Regions from separate parts of the Homo sapiens genome. Here all the other regions are linked to region 3. Evidence: promoter capture Hi-C in 16 types of primary human blood cells and fetal thymus (Javierre and others, 2016). All regions are on one chromosome and are shown on one strand. The core of a region is centred on a gene start or on the middle of the fragment in contact, and the rest is flanking DNA. Distances in the headings are between cores, read along the strand shown.

What was found. The method cuts DNA at HindIII sites, captures the fragments that hold promoters and counts their contacts. A CHiCAGO score of 5 or more calls a contact.
Region 1: a fragment that was not itself captured here is called in contact with the fragment with the promoter of ITGA6 in region 3 in 5 of 17 cell types (total CD8 T cells, activated CD4 T cells, naive CD8 T cells and 2 more); the score reaches 8.1 in total CD8 T cells.
Region 2: a fragment that was not itself captured here is called in contact with the fragment with the promoter of ITGA6 in region 3 in 1 of 17 cell types (naive CD4 T cells); the score reaches 5.5 in naive CD4 T cells.
Region 4: a fragment that was not itself captured here is called in contact with the fragment with the promoter of ITGA6 in region 3 in 1 of 17 cell types (non-activated CD4 T cells); the score reaches 5.3 in non-activated CD4 T cells.

Annotation. Positions count from the first base shown.
Region 1 is chr2:171,709,247-171,712,722 of GRCh38, forward strand. All of the region lies in intron 5 of DYNC1I2 (dynein cytoplasmic 1 intermediate chain 2), which reads left to right. Among named protein-coding and RNA genes, the nearest start is that of DYNC1I2, 24 kb to the left of the region's middle. The HindIII fragment of the contact is 247 bases long and covers 2,089-2,335 here.
Region 2 is chr2:171,749,748-171,753,005 of GRCh38, forward strand. It overlaps DYNC1I2 (dynein cytoplasmic 1 intermediate chain 2), which reads left to right. Exons shown (of 18, transcript NM_001378.3): 18 at 1-411. Among named protein-coding and RNA genes, the nearest start is that of DYNC1I2, 64 kb to the left of the region's middle. The HindIII fragment of the contact is 1,842 bases long and covers 450-2,291 here.
Region 3 is chr2:172,425,863-172,429,202 of GRCh38, forward strand. ITGA6 (integrin subunit alpha 6) reads left to right here and starts at 1,724. Exons shown (of 26, transcript NM_000210.4): 1 at 1,724-2,108. The coding sequence starts at 1,927. RefSeq lists a silencer at 1,672-1,751 and an enhancer at 2,536-3,036. The HindIII fragment of the contact is 11,901 bases long and covers 1-3,340 here.
Region 4 is chr2:171,807,716-171,810,907 of GRCh38, forward strand. SLC25A12 (solute carrier family 25 member 12) reads right to left here. Exons shown (of 18, transcript NM_003705.5): 12 at 2,509-2,561; 13 at 1,891-1,971. Among named protein-coding and RNA genes, the nearest start is that of SLC25A12, 85 kb to the right of the region's middle. The HindIII fragment of the contact is 3,320 bases long and covers 1-3,192 here.

The DNA.
Region 1 (3,476 bases), core at 962-3,461, 720 kb before region 3:
GACACTTAAGTTTTTTAAATTAATGTGAATTAAAACATGTCCCCATGAGTTTTATGGACAACCCAGAGATTATTAGAGACCTTTTAGAATATTGTAAATTAATACAGGGAGTAATAATGGTAAGAAAAATATTTATTCATGTATAGAACAAATATTAAGTTACCAACTTTATTAAAATACTATGGTTTACCACAGAAGATAAAACATTCATGGTCCTTGCTTTCATAGAATTTACATTGTAGTGATTACATCATTAATTTAAAGATACTGTTGACTTTATTGGAAAGCCCTAAGGGTAGTGTGCTATGTTTAGTGTGAAGCATAGTTTTTTTAATGATAAATTGTAAAACACAAAAACAAATAGTTAATATTTTTTAAAGTATTTGTTCTTGTTAGATAATGAATACAAAATTGGTTTCTTGTGAGTTTAACGGAGAGAAAAATCCTCTTTTTGAGTGAGGTGACCTTACATCTTTCTTTTTTTCTTTGAGATGGCATTTCCTTCTTGTTGCCCAGGCTGGAGTGCAGTGGCACGATCTTGGCTCACTGCAACCTCCACCTCCCACGTTCAAGCGATTCTCCTGCCTCAGCCTCCCAAGTAACTGGGATTACAAGCATGCACAACCGCGCCCAGCTAATTTTGTATTTTTAGTAAAGACAGGGTTTCACCATGTTGGCCAGGCTGGTCTCGAACTCCTGACCTCAGGTGATCCACCCACCTCAGCCTCCCAAAGTGCTGGGGTAGCAGGCTTGAGCCACCGCACCCAGCCACATCTTTTTAACCTTAATATGTACGTTGTCTCCTTTGAGAGCACAGACTCACTTGGAAACATTAATTTTCAAGAGGGCTGAGTATATTCATTTTTATGTATATATACACACACACACACACACACACACACACACACACACACACACAGAGTAATAGAAAATGATGAATTCTACTAAATCATATCCAGCTTTCATAGAGGTAATTAATATTGTGATGGTGATATTGGCAGTGAAATAATGCATTTCTAAATATGTGACATTTAAAAAGAGTGCCCAGGTCTCAGAATGAAACCTAATGAACTCATATTGAGCAAACACGATGTTAATGTAAGAATAAAGACAATTAGAAGAAATATAATAGGAAAATACATGAAGACATGTGAGATGTGTGCATGCACCTGTACGTGCAACTTCAGTTGGCTAAGATGGTCTAAGATTAATACACTCAGGGAGTAGGAATAGATAAGACATTATAAAATATGCTGTCTAAACATGTTTGAATCACTCTAAGTGCCAAGAATTTCTTTTGGGACTGGTGGTAATTTATGAATAAATATAAAAGGTCGTGAGAAATAATCTCTCTCTAACTTTGCAGATTAGGAAGCTGCATTACATTTGTTATCTCAAAAATTTAGGAACAATTATTCAGTGGGGTAATCCAGGCCTCTTGTTCCTTTTTTCCTTTTTTTTTTTTTTCTTTTTTGAGTCAGAGTCTTGCTCTGTTGTCCGGGCTGGGGTGCAATGGCGTGATCTCGGCTCACTTCAATCTCTGCCTCCTGGGTTCAAGCAACTCTCCTGCCTCAGTCTCCCCAGTAGCTGGGATTGCAGGTGTGTGTCACCATACCCAGCTACTTTTTTTTTTTTTAATGCTTTTAAGTTCTAGGGTACATGTGCACAATGTGCAGGTTTGTTACATATGTATACTTGTGCCATGTTGGTGTGCTGCACTCATTAACTCATCATTTACATTAGGTATGTCTCCTAATGCTATCCCTCCCCCCTCCCCTCACCCCACGACAGGCCCCGGTATGTGATGTTCTCCTTCCTATGTCCAAGTGTTCTCATTGTTCAATTCCCACCTGTGAGTGAGAACATGCGGTGTTTGGTTTTTTGTCCTTGTGATAGTTTGCTGAGAATGATGGTTTCCAGCTACTTTTTGATTTTTAGTAGAGATGGGGTTTCATCGCGTTGGCCAGGCTGGTCTCGAACTCCTGACCTCAAGTGATCTGCCCACCTCGGCCTCCCAAAGTGCCAGGATGACCGGTGTGAGCCACCGTGCCTGGCCCATTTTTCCATTTTTGATCAGTTTACTTCTCAAGCTTTGTACTTGGAATTGTACTCTATGTGCCTGAAGATGCCCCTAATAAATGTAATAATGTACAGGTATGTCCAGTGCATTTTCAGTACTGGCTGTATTTTGAGGTACAGTGTTACTTGATTTTAGACTAAAATGACATCCTCAACAAGGAATTTTATGTCATTGATAACAGAGCTCTTACATAATGTAAATGACAGAACATTCCTTGGAGACCATCTCATAGAACTTTTGATTTAACAAAGCCTAAGCTTGTTGCTATTCATTGCTTAGTACAAAGTAGATCTTCACTGTGGCTGCTTCTTACATTGCATACACATAACCTTGTTTAAATTCCAAGATCTTTCTTTATATTTTTTAAATGAAGGATTTCTCTAGATTAATTCATTACTATTTTTCTTGATAAATTATATAGGCAGGTAGAGAAACCATTTGTTGTATTAAAACATTGTAGCAACTAAAACTAGTTATAAATTATAATGTCTTACATAAGTGAAAAATATATTTGACAAAAATGGTAATACTAAATGTATTGTGCTTAACTTTATTTAGTGGGGACTATGAGCATTATACAGTACCATACATAATTATCTTATATATTGCTAACCTATATAAATGCCAGTATGATAAAGCACCTTTTGTTCTATTAGTAACTAAGTTTGGCTTAAGTGGAAAAGATCCTCTGTAAGTTACTTAGCCAGCAGGCGATGCTAAAACTTATAACTCAATATTTAGGATTGACATTTGAACATAAAATATTTTTCCAGGGAAAAATCTATTTTTTTCCTAGAGACAGAAATCTTTAGTTGTTTTCTTTAAGCAGATGATACGTAAGCCCAAGGCGGTGCTTAACCCATAAATTACAGAAGGGTCACATTTTGGAAACTTTAGCTATTTTGTATCCCAGTGGGATAGTCTTTGGTTTTATTACCAAAAGGCTTATGTGTTGACTCATTTCCTTTACCAGTATGACAATTTCCTGCACACATGTAATGCTTTGGGGAAGATTAGAATATGTTAACCAAGATGTTTTAATGTGTTTGTTTTCATTAGGAATCTTAAAATTTCAACCATTTTATAGCCTAGCTTGTTATCCATAAATAATTAACTTGGGTTGTCTGACTTTAGTTGTTCTAAAGCAGATCTATTATTATACAATATTAGTTTCCCATAATCTGCAAATAATGTCTTTTAACTATTCTGGGTTGTATGCTTGCATCTTTAACCATAGGAAGCCTATTGCATGCACTAGATGATTGAGTGACCTGGTGGATTTCTTGTTTTGTTTTCGATTTTTTTTTTTTAATACTAACCAGAACATGTGTTTTTTAATTGTGAATAGTACTTTAGCTTTAGCTATTCATAGAATGTATTTGCTTGACTAACTTAT
Region 2 (3,258 bases), core at 121-2,620, 680 kb before region 3:
GTATACCTTTGCCCATTCAACTTTAGTCCATATTTTTAGGAACACACAAATTTACTTTAAGGAATTACCTTTAAAGTTGACTATATAATAGCAAAAGAGAAAGTATTGAGACTGTCAGTGTTGATAAAGCTTCTAGCAAGATTAGGTTGACTAGAAGTGCATCACAGTTCTTTATACTTTTAGAACTAAAAGCCTTATAATTTTGAAAAATATCCAGTTACAGAAATTGTACCTTATCAGTTATACTTTTTTTCTGAGTAAGAAAACAAGCTATAGCTTTCTGGTTAATTTCTTATTTTTCGTTGTTTGGTTTTTGTCTTTTTGAGTGGAACGTTAAAGTTTATTACCTTCATGTTAAGGAATATCCAGCTTCACAGACAATTAACTTGCAATAAATCTCTGAAATAATCATTTTTTGGTATTATTTAAACCAAATATGCATTGGTAGAAGCTTTCTTCCTGTTTACAGATCCAGCTCCCTATAAAGTTTAGAAAATCTCTTTGTATAAAATGTTGTTACAATAATGCTGAAATACTGCATCTCAAAGGAATGGATGACTTAAAATTTAGTGGGAGGAACTATAGGAAAGTCGTTTTAGGAATGATTGGTCCTAGTCTTTCAGTGTTGTTAAAATGTTTTAGTCTGTTCTGTACTAGTGTGGATAGACTAATATCCACCCCTTGAACCATACAGAAAGACTTGAATGGATGAGTGAAAATCTGCTGTGAAGCATATCATACTATCTTTGCTTTATATTGAGTAGTGCATTACTTTTAAGTCAGAAAGCCAGTAGGTTTTTTTGTTTGTTTGTTTTTCCCTAAAGCGCTGCCATAAATTTCAGTGGTCACCTGCCACTCACTGGGCGGTGTATTTTTAAATGTCTTTTCCACAACCCCAGTATTTCAACATTGACATTCTAATAGTTTTCTAAATGAGAAAGCTGTATAATTAAATGTATGCTAAAGAGAATGGAGCTCCAAATGCAGCTCCAGATGCTGCTTATCATCTAGGATGCTGGTGTCATGTCTTAGTCTTCAGGATAAGCCAAGGTTAAAAAGCCAACAGCTTTACTTCTTGATGACTTAGTAATGGGGTTCCCATTGAGTTTTGTTTTTAATCCAAGCTACACAGCAACAAGAAAGGAGATCTTGCTTTCCTTAGGCTACCATCTTGCTGATTGCTAGCCCAGCAGTCCCCAACCTTTTTGGCACCAGCCATCATCTGTTTGTTTCATGGCAGACAATTTTTCCACGGACCAGGGAGGTTGGGGAGATGGTTTCAGGATCAAACTGTTCCACCTCAGATCATCATCAGACATTATTAGATTCTCATAAGGAAGGAGCACACACAACCTAGATCCCTCACATGTGCAGTTCACATTATTAGGGTTTGCGCTCCTCTGAGAATCTAATACCGTCACTTGCTGATCTGACAGGACGGGGAGCTCAGGTGGTATTGCTCATTCGCCTGCCCGCCCGCCTGCCTGCCGCTCACCTTCTGTTATACAGCCTGCCATGGACCACTACTGGTTCTGGTTTGCGGCCCAGGGGTTGGGGCCCCCTGTGCTAGGCAACTTAGAGACCTTACAGGTTTGAGGAAAAGTCACTCCCAACTAGGAACTTATCATTTACTAATTAAAAATTATTGATGCTGTGAAATTATTTACTTAGAGATCTGGCTTACAAATCTAGGGGTTCCTAATGCTGTCAGAGAATTAGAAATTGCCCCAAAGGCAGTATTAAGAGAACAGCCATTTTCAGTATTTCTTTTGAAGGGGAAGATTACAATTAGGAACCTTCTTTTAACCAGTTTTTTCAAAAGTTTTACAGCCCCCAAATGGTAGTAATTTGCTTGTATTGTATTATATTTTGTAAATCCTTTTTCATAAATAGGAAACATGTTATGGAGTCCATCTTAGAGAAAAATCCTACACTGATAACCAGAATACCAACTATAAAACTTGGAATCCATCACACTGGAATGCTTTTCACAATAGGCCAGTTCTCTCATTCCTTTTGTTGGACTTTAGGTATTTAGATTGTCTTTCTGCCTGCCATGTTCACAATTCCCAAACTTCTAAAAGTTCAAATGGATAGCAGGAATTTAAGTTTTCAGTATGTAGCTTTTAGCCACTGATAGTTTCCACATAGCCAATCAGCAGTCTTTTACAAACTTTTATAAAATTATGGTATTTTGTGTTGTTAGTTTCATAGCAGGAATCCCAGTTTTGGCTTCTTAATATTCCATTACCAGTTCCCAGTCAGAGGATGGAACAGCTTGCACTCAGGTAAGCTTTCTGAAAGGTCTGTTTCACTTTGTGAGGTCGCTTATTCAGGTCTCTGGTAATGTATTATCTTGCCTCTCTTATAATGTACTTGATTTGGTCAGAAAGCTGTGGGGCGGTGATTGTATGGATGTAGAACACACCTGCGTTGGGCCGAACATGCAGAGATCTGACACTGTGACTCCTGAAATCAGGTATACCAGTGGTAAGACTTTGATAGCAAGTAATTTTATCTTTTGTGAATTTTTTTACTAGATTTTTTTTTTTCCTGAACAAGGTAATGGAAATGCATTGAAACAAAATTTCTTATATTTAAGAGTGGCTTGGTATATGAGGGAAACAACACTGGGTACAAAAGACCCAAGTTCTATTCCTGATTTCCCCCATTTCTAGTAGTGTAACCTAGGACAAGGTTAAGTATTATCATCTTTTAAATGAGGAAAATATTTGCTTTCTGTGACAATTATGTGAGAAAATGTATATGTGAAGACCTTTGTAAATTATATTACAAAGTACTATACAAATAAGGGATTTTATTTTTCATTTTCTTGTTAAGAATACAAGAAGGGAGAGAGACCATCTGTGTACGCCTCTGTGCAATGTAATGAGCTCAGGATAAAGGGGGTTGGTGTTCAAGAAATTATTATTTTTTAATTCTAGGAAATCACATAACTTAAACCCTCAGCAGAATCCTCAAGTGTTCAGGAGTAGCAGTGAACTGAGAAAAATACCAATTGCTTTTCATCAGTGATACTTTTTCTAGGAACGTTTTATTACATTCTATGATAAAGTTACAGATTATGTTTAGTAGAAAAAAAAATGACCCACTCTGAATTTCCATCCTAGACTCAGCTGTTCCTCTTCTGTTATATACAGAACATCGACTGTGGTATCTGGAGCCTTTGAAAAGTGCAAGTGGAACTCCTTTTTTGAATCAATGAGAGAACAAACTTGGTTCAAGACTATACAGTTA
Region 3 (3,340 bases), core at 474-2,973:
ATAGTTTCTCAACCTTATCAAGATATATTTGTTAAAACTGTGTGCTCTCCAAAATCATCTACTGAATTTAAACCACTGCACCCCACTTTGGACTATAATTGACTGGAGTTACTGATTGGAAAGGAAGTGGTACACACCCCTAATATACTGACGGACTTACTCTGACAGCTGCTACCACCTGTGGGGACCCTTGATGATGTTCACGCAGCTTTTCTGAGTGGCACATGCTGTTCTCTTGAATACTCCTTGAGGTGAAGAAGAGGCCACCCCTACCCCTATGCACACACAGCTCCTGCTCTTTCCTGGGGCTGCACCCTGCTTGTATTTCCAATGCAGGGATGTCAGATTCCAAAGAGGGCTCCCCAAGGCATTCCAGAAGGCTTCAGGCCAGCACGTCCCAACCTTTTCATGCCATGGGACCCCTTTGGCAGGCTGCTGAAAACCATGGGGTTCTTCTCAGAATAAGGGTTTTAAATACATAAAAGAAACCACAAGAGGTTACAAAAAAAGCCAATAATATTGAAATGTAGCTAACAAAATGTTTTTAAAAATTTGTGCTAGAGCAATATATATGCTTCATTATTGACATATAATATCTGGCTGATTGTCTAATAACTACTGTTATTTGAGATACTTGCAACAACTGTGATGTGATGTAAAAACCTATGGTTTCTAGTGATTACTAAGTCATAAATACTTATCCTACTGCTACTGTAGTTTGTTGTCTACGTTCATAATGGCAAAACGTGCTAAATGTCAGAGGTTGGTGAAAATTAAGACGTAAATTTTTTCTCATCCAAGTTCACAGTACTCTTGAATTAATTACCTCTCCTCGGGTTAAGAACCCCTGCAGGATAAGGTTGCCCCTAGGGCCAACACCTCACTGGAGCCCCGCCTCATGTCCTGGAGGCAGGAGCCTTCATGCCACCTACACAGAACTCGGAGCTGTCTCTTGGCCCAGCAGTTCTCCCCACAACTAGTTCTGAAAGTCCGGGGCTAGGAAAGAACGGCATCGTCGCCTGAGCTCCTGGCGCCACTTTAAACAACCCATCCTTGACTTGCGTGACTTCTTCCACAAGCTCTCCTGGTCACCTGGGCAAAATCCTAGGTGATCTGGGGACAAGGCGGAACTTCGGTTTTCTGATCTGCAAAAAGAAACACCTACCTCATAGGACTGTTAGGATGAATTGAGGTAATGGCTGGGTTGTGTACATTATACAGCACTATCAAGGTGTGCGCTGTGATCATTTTTGAGGGTTGTTAGGTGTTTGAGGACCCAGAACAGTCTACACAGCTGTAGTCCCCAAGTGTTGGGCACGCCTTAAGCGCTCCATAAACACCTGTAGAAATGAATGAATGACGTATGCATCTGCACGTGGGCCCACATCTGCAAGAACAGGCTGCTCAGGCCATGAGGCCCGGTGCATCACCTGCACTTCTCTTTATAACGGGTAGTAAAGTCTCCCTCGCTCTGTGCTACTCGGCAACCACAATTCTGTCCACAGAGGGCGGCGCAGTGGGGCTGCTTCGCCGCGAGCTCGCCTCCGGGGCTCCCACGTCGTGGCTTCCGGGCAGGTACCGGGCAGCTGGAGACGCCAGAGCCGGCGGGTAAGGTGCGGGCGGTGCGCCGGGCCGCGGGCGCGCAAGGAGGGGCGAGAGGGTGGGGAGGGGCGGGGCCGGCGTCCTCGTCACTTGATAAAACGCCTGCGAGTCTCCAGAGAACAACGGGCTCATTCAGCGGTCGCGAGCTGCCCGCGAGGGGGAGCGGCCGGACGGAGAGCGCGACCCGTCCCGGGGGTGGGGCCGGGCGCAGCGGCGAGAGGAGGCGAAGGTGGCTGCGGTAGCAGCAGCGCGGCAGCCTCGGACCCAGCCCGGAGCGCAGGGCGGCCGCTGCAGGTCCCCGCTCCCCTCCCCGTGCGTCCGCCCATGGCCGCCGCCGGGCAGCTGTGCTTGCTCTACCTGTCGGCGGGGCTCCTGTCCCGGCTCGGCGCAGCCTTCAACTTGGACACTCGGGAGGACAACGTGATCCGGAAATATGGAGACCCCGGGAGCCTCTTCGGCTTCTCGCTGGCCATGCACTGGCAACTGCAGCCCGAGGACAAGCGGCTGTGAGTTCCCAGACCCTTCCCACCCCCACTGGGGCGCCGGCCTGCGCGCGAGTTGAGGCGAGGGCGCGCCCTGTTCCCGCCGGCCCCGGGGAGTAGTTGGCCCGTGGGTCGCGCCCGGGCCGGCCGAGGCGCACCCAGCGCCCAGCGCGCTCGGCTCCCCGCCCTGACCCGCCCCGCGCGGCGCCTCCCTCCATTCAGCTCGGGAAGGAGGAGAACCCGAGGGCTAGGCTGGGCCCCGGGAGAGTTTACTTTTTTTTCTGTTTTAAACAAAGTGCTTTCCGCCGGTTCTTCCCTCCGGGCGTGTTTGCTGGGACCCCGGCAGGTGGCACGCTTTGCTGAGCTTCACGTGTGTGTTTGGGGCTGGGGTGGCGTTCAGGGTCACCGCAGCGCTGCTGTGGGTTTGCAGGGAGCGTAGTTCCAGGATGGTCTAGGCCTTTCCCAAACTCACGGTGCACCCCGTCTCCCCCGCAGACTGGCGCGCCCCGCACAAGTTGGAAAGCCACTTTCCATGTGTCCTGCATGACTTTCTCAGCAAGGCGGGGGCGCTCCTTAGGAGATACTTTTACATGCCTTTGAAAAAAAAAAAAAAAAAGATGGGGGTGGGGGCGGGAATTAACCAAACACCTGTTCGCTGGACTAGATCAGCTGAGAAAACAAGTCTGAGTGATGTGCCCAGCCCCCAAAGTACTCGGCCGCACCCGAGACCCGCTCGGCTCCTGCGTTGGGCGGGCACAGCCAAGGGGTTAAAGCAAAATGTCCGATCTGAGCCTGGACTTTGCAAACAAGGTTTGTAAGGGACAACCCCCCACCGTAGCGGTAAACCTCCCAGGAGAAAGAGGAGACCGGCACTACTGGCCTCTCCTTTTATTTCTTAAACAGTGTTTGGTTCCCACATGATCGGCTATTTAAGCCGGAGAGGGTATTTTGGCGCTTAGTCGCCTTAATCGCTATGGGGTTGCATTCTTCATCTGTGCTACTGAAAAATAGGCTGTAGCAACAAAAGGTCTCCCCTCCCCACCCAGGCCTTGAGTTGAACTAAGGACCTTCCAGGACCAACAGACCGGAGAAAGCAAAGTGCAGCCACAGTGAAGAGATTTTGTGTTTAGGAGAGGCGAATGGGATTTTAGAACTGGAGGAAACCTCTTGATTTCAGCGGTTAACAACTTTGGAATTCGTGAATGTTGCAGCCCCTGAATTTTAGTCAGTTTTTTTTTTTTTCTGATAACACCTGC
Region 4 (3,192 bases), core at 297-2,796, 620 kb before region 3:
AAGAGAAACTTCATTTTTGGTGATCCACCTAAGCAAAAGTTTTATTCTATGTCCACTGTTAACTCTTCATTAAAAAAGAAATGTAGCCAAAGAGATTTCCTTCCTGAGAATGTGCTGGGGCATGCATACAGGCACACACACACCCACACAGCAGTCCACCTCTTCCAAAGCAACTCTGCAGAGGACTCAGGTATGTGCCACACTGACACATATCAAAGAGAATCTGGAGCAACCTCTCTCTCTCTCTGACCCCCGAGGCAGTGTCTCTGAATTAAATGTTGCCAAGGTCACTGACCTCATCACTTCAGGTTTCACAAGCAACTGAGGAAGTTTTAGCCAAGACTGTCAGCCAATTCAACTGGAAGTTATTAATGTTTCCAAGAACAAAATGGACTAAACAAGTCTGAAACGAACCATGTGTTATCAAATATGAAACAAATACCACAAATGAAATTAGTTGAGCTGCAAATAGATTTAAGAATTGGTCATGCTTACACTTTAAAGACAGAAACCTTTGTGCGCTAAGTAAATATCTGAGTCTCTTGGTTCAGAATTTCTGTCAATAGCTGAAATGTAGTTACCGTTATTATTGTTTGCCAATAATCATGTCATGCTTACACTTTAAAGACAGAAACCTTTGTGCGCTAAGTAAATATCTGAGTCTCTTGGTTCAGAATTTCTGTCAATAGCTGAAATGTAGTTACCGTTATTATTGTTTGCCATACCCTCTGGCCTCTAAAGAAGAAAAATTATTATTAAACAATGGCTTACTCAGTCCTATACCTAAGATATAAGGGCCCAATTAATCAGCCATCTCACACTTGTTTTAAAGTTCCAGTTAACATATATGAATGGTAACTCTATCCACTACTATATTTTCTGTACTCTATTTCTTAAAAGGCATAGGAATTAGAACTTTTAAAAAAGTCTGGAAGGTAATGCTTTAGGAGCATCAAAGAGATAGAGCTGATGAAAATGCCACCTCTTTTTTTGTTATTATACTTTAAGTTTTAGGGTACATGTGCACAATGTGCAGGTTTGATACATAGGTATACATGTGCCATGTTGGTTTGCTGCACCCATCAACTCATCATTTACATTAGGTATTTCTCCTACTGCTATCTCTCCCCCAACCCCCAACCCCCAACCCCATGACAGGCCCCAGTGTGTGATGCTCCCTGCCCTGTGTCCAGGTGTTCTCATTGTTCAATTCCCACCTATGAGTGAGAACATGTGGTGTTTGGTTTTCTGTCCTTGTGACAGTTTGCTGAGAATGATGGTTTGCAGCTTCATCCATGTCCCTGCAAAGGACAGGAACTCATCCTTTTTTATGGCTGCATATTATTCCATGGTGTATATGTGCCAAATTTTCTTAATCCAGTCTGTCACTGATGGGCATTTGGGTTGGTTCCAAGTCTTTGCTATTGTGAATAGTGCCACAATAAACATATGTGTGCATGTGTCTTTATAGTAGAATGATTTATAATCCTTTGGGTATATACTCAGTAATGGGATTGCTGGGTCAAATGGTATTTCTAGTTCTAGATCCTTGAGGAATTGCCACACTGTCTTCCACAATGGTTGAACTAATTCACACTCCCACCAACAGTGTAAAATGGTTCCTATTTCTCCACATCCTCTCCAGCATCTGTTGTTTCCTGACTTTTTAATGATCACCATTCTAACTGGCGGAAAATGCTACCTCTTTTCTACACTCAAAACCCGTTAGCTTTTACAATAAAATTTAAAACTTATTCCATATGATTATTGAGAAAACCTGCTTAGAATCCCTTGAGTTCAAGAGAAATGCCACTAAGATATCTATTATATCTGTGCAAAAAGGTCAACGGAATGTATTTGTCACAAGAAGCGCCTAACAGTAATACTTACACAGCCTCCAGCAAGAACTTCTGCTGGAAGTGGAACAGAGCCATCTCTTCTGGTAAATTTGTCCCGAACAAAATCATTAACCTAATTAGAAAGACAACATCAGTTAACCAAAATTCCCAACCATTTCTCTTCTGGCATACTGTTGCTTTTCCAAGTCAGCAAAATATTTGTCTTATGATAAAATTTAAAATTATCAAATGCTTACATGTAAAATTAAAGTTGTACAAATTCTGCGACAGTGTGCCAGTGTCAGCAGCATCAATTTTAGTTTTGTTTTTGAGACAGGGTCTCACTCTGTTGCTCAGGCTGGAGTGCAGTGGCATGATCATAGCTCACTACAGCCTCAAATTCCTGGACTCAAGCAATCCTCCCACATCAGCCTCCTGGCATAAATCACCACACTTGGCTAATTTTTAATTTTGTTGTTGTTGTTGTTGTTTTGGTAGAGCTGAGTTCTTACTATGCTTATGCTGGTTTAGAACTGGTCTCAAGTGATCCTCCCACCACCCAAAATGCTGAGATTATAGGCATGAGCTACCACGCCTAGCCTTGATTTTAGCTTTTTGGCTTAATGGTAATCTAAACAAATGACATAAATTCAGTTAGAGATAAACTTACAGTCAGTTTAATGGCCTTTTCTGGAGCAACCCCTATAAGTTGTGGTATCAGACCTAGGTAAAGGGACAGAATCATCAGCAATATAGCTGTACCAGACATGAATACACAAGCCCAGCAACAAAGAGTTTCCCCCATATTATTTACCCATCAAACATTGCAGAGTTTTCATTAAAATGGGAAAAAGATTATCCTTAAAACTCTGTATACATATGTAATAATTATTTACAAATGCAGTATAATGTCACGTTTTCTTGAGGCTATAAATCCTCTTCTTAAGCATGCTTACTTTAAAGCCTAGTTATCCAACACTTCCCAAAAAGTCCATGAAGAAGAAACGGAGCCATGCGTCTTCTCTATTCTGGGAACACTGCCAATAACAATGTAACCAAATTCCCTCCCTTATTACAACCAACAACATATAAACATACACAGATACTGTACACTTGGAAAAGCTCTGAAAAGCATGCTGTTAAGCATACCCAGATTTTGCTACCTACATAATGGCATACAGTGGCTTCGTTATTATAGAATACTAACTCCCATAATCTTCTCTTCAGAGAAACACAGCATTCAATATTCATTTATTTAAAAGGAAGCCAAAACTGCAAAGAAAAATGCAGTTTTAAGTATTGTTTAACGAGTATCTCCTATAAGCAAAAACATATGCCTGTTGTATTCTTATTG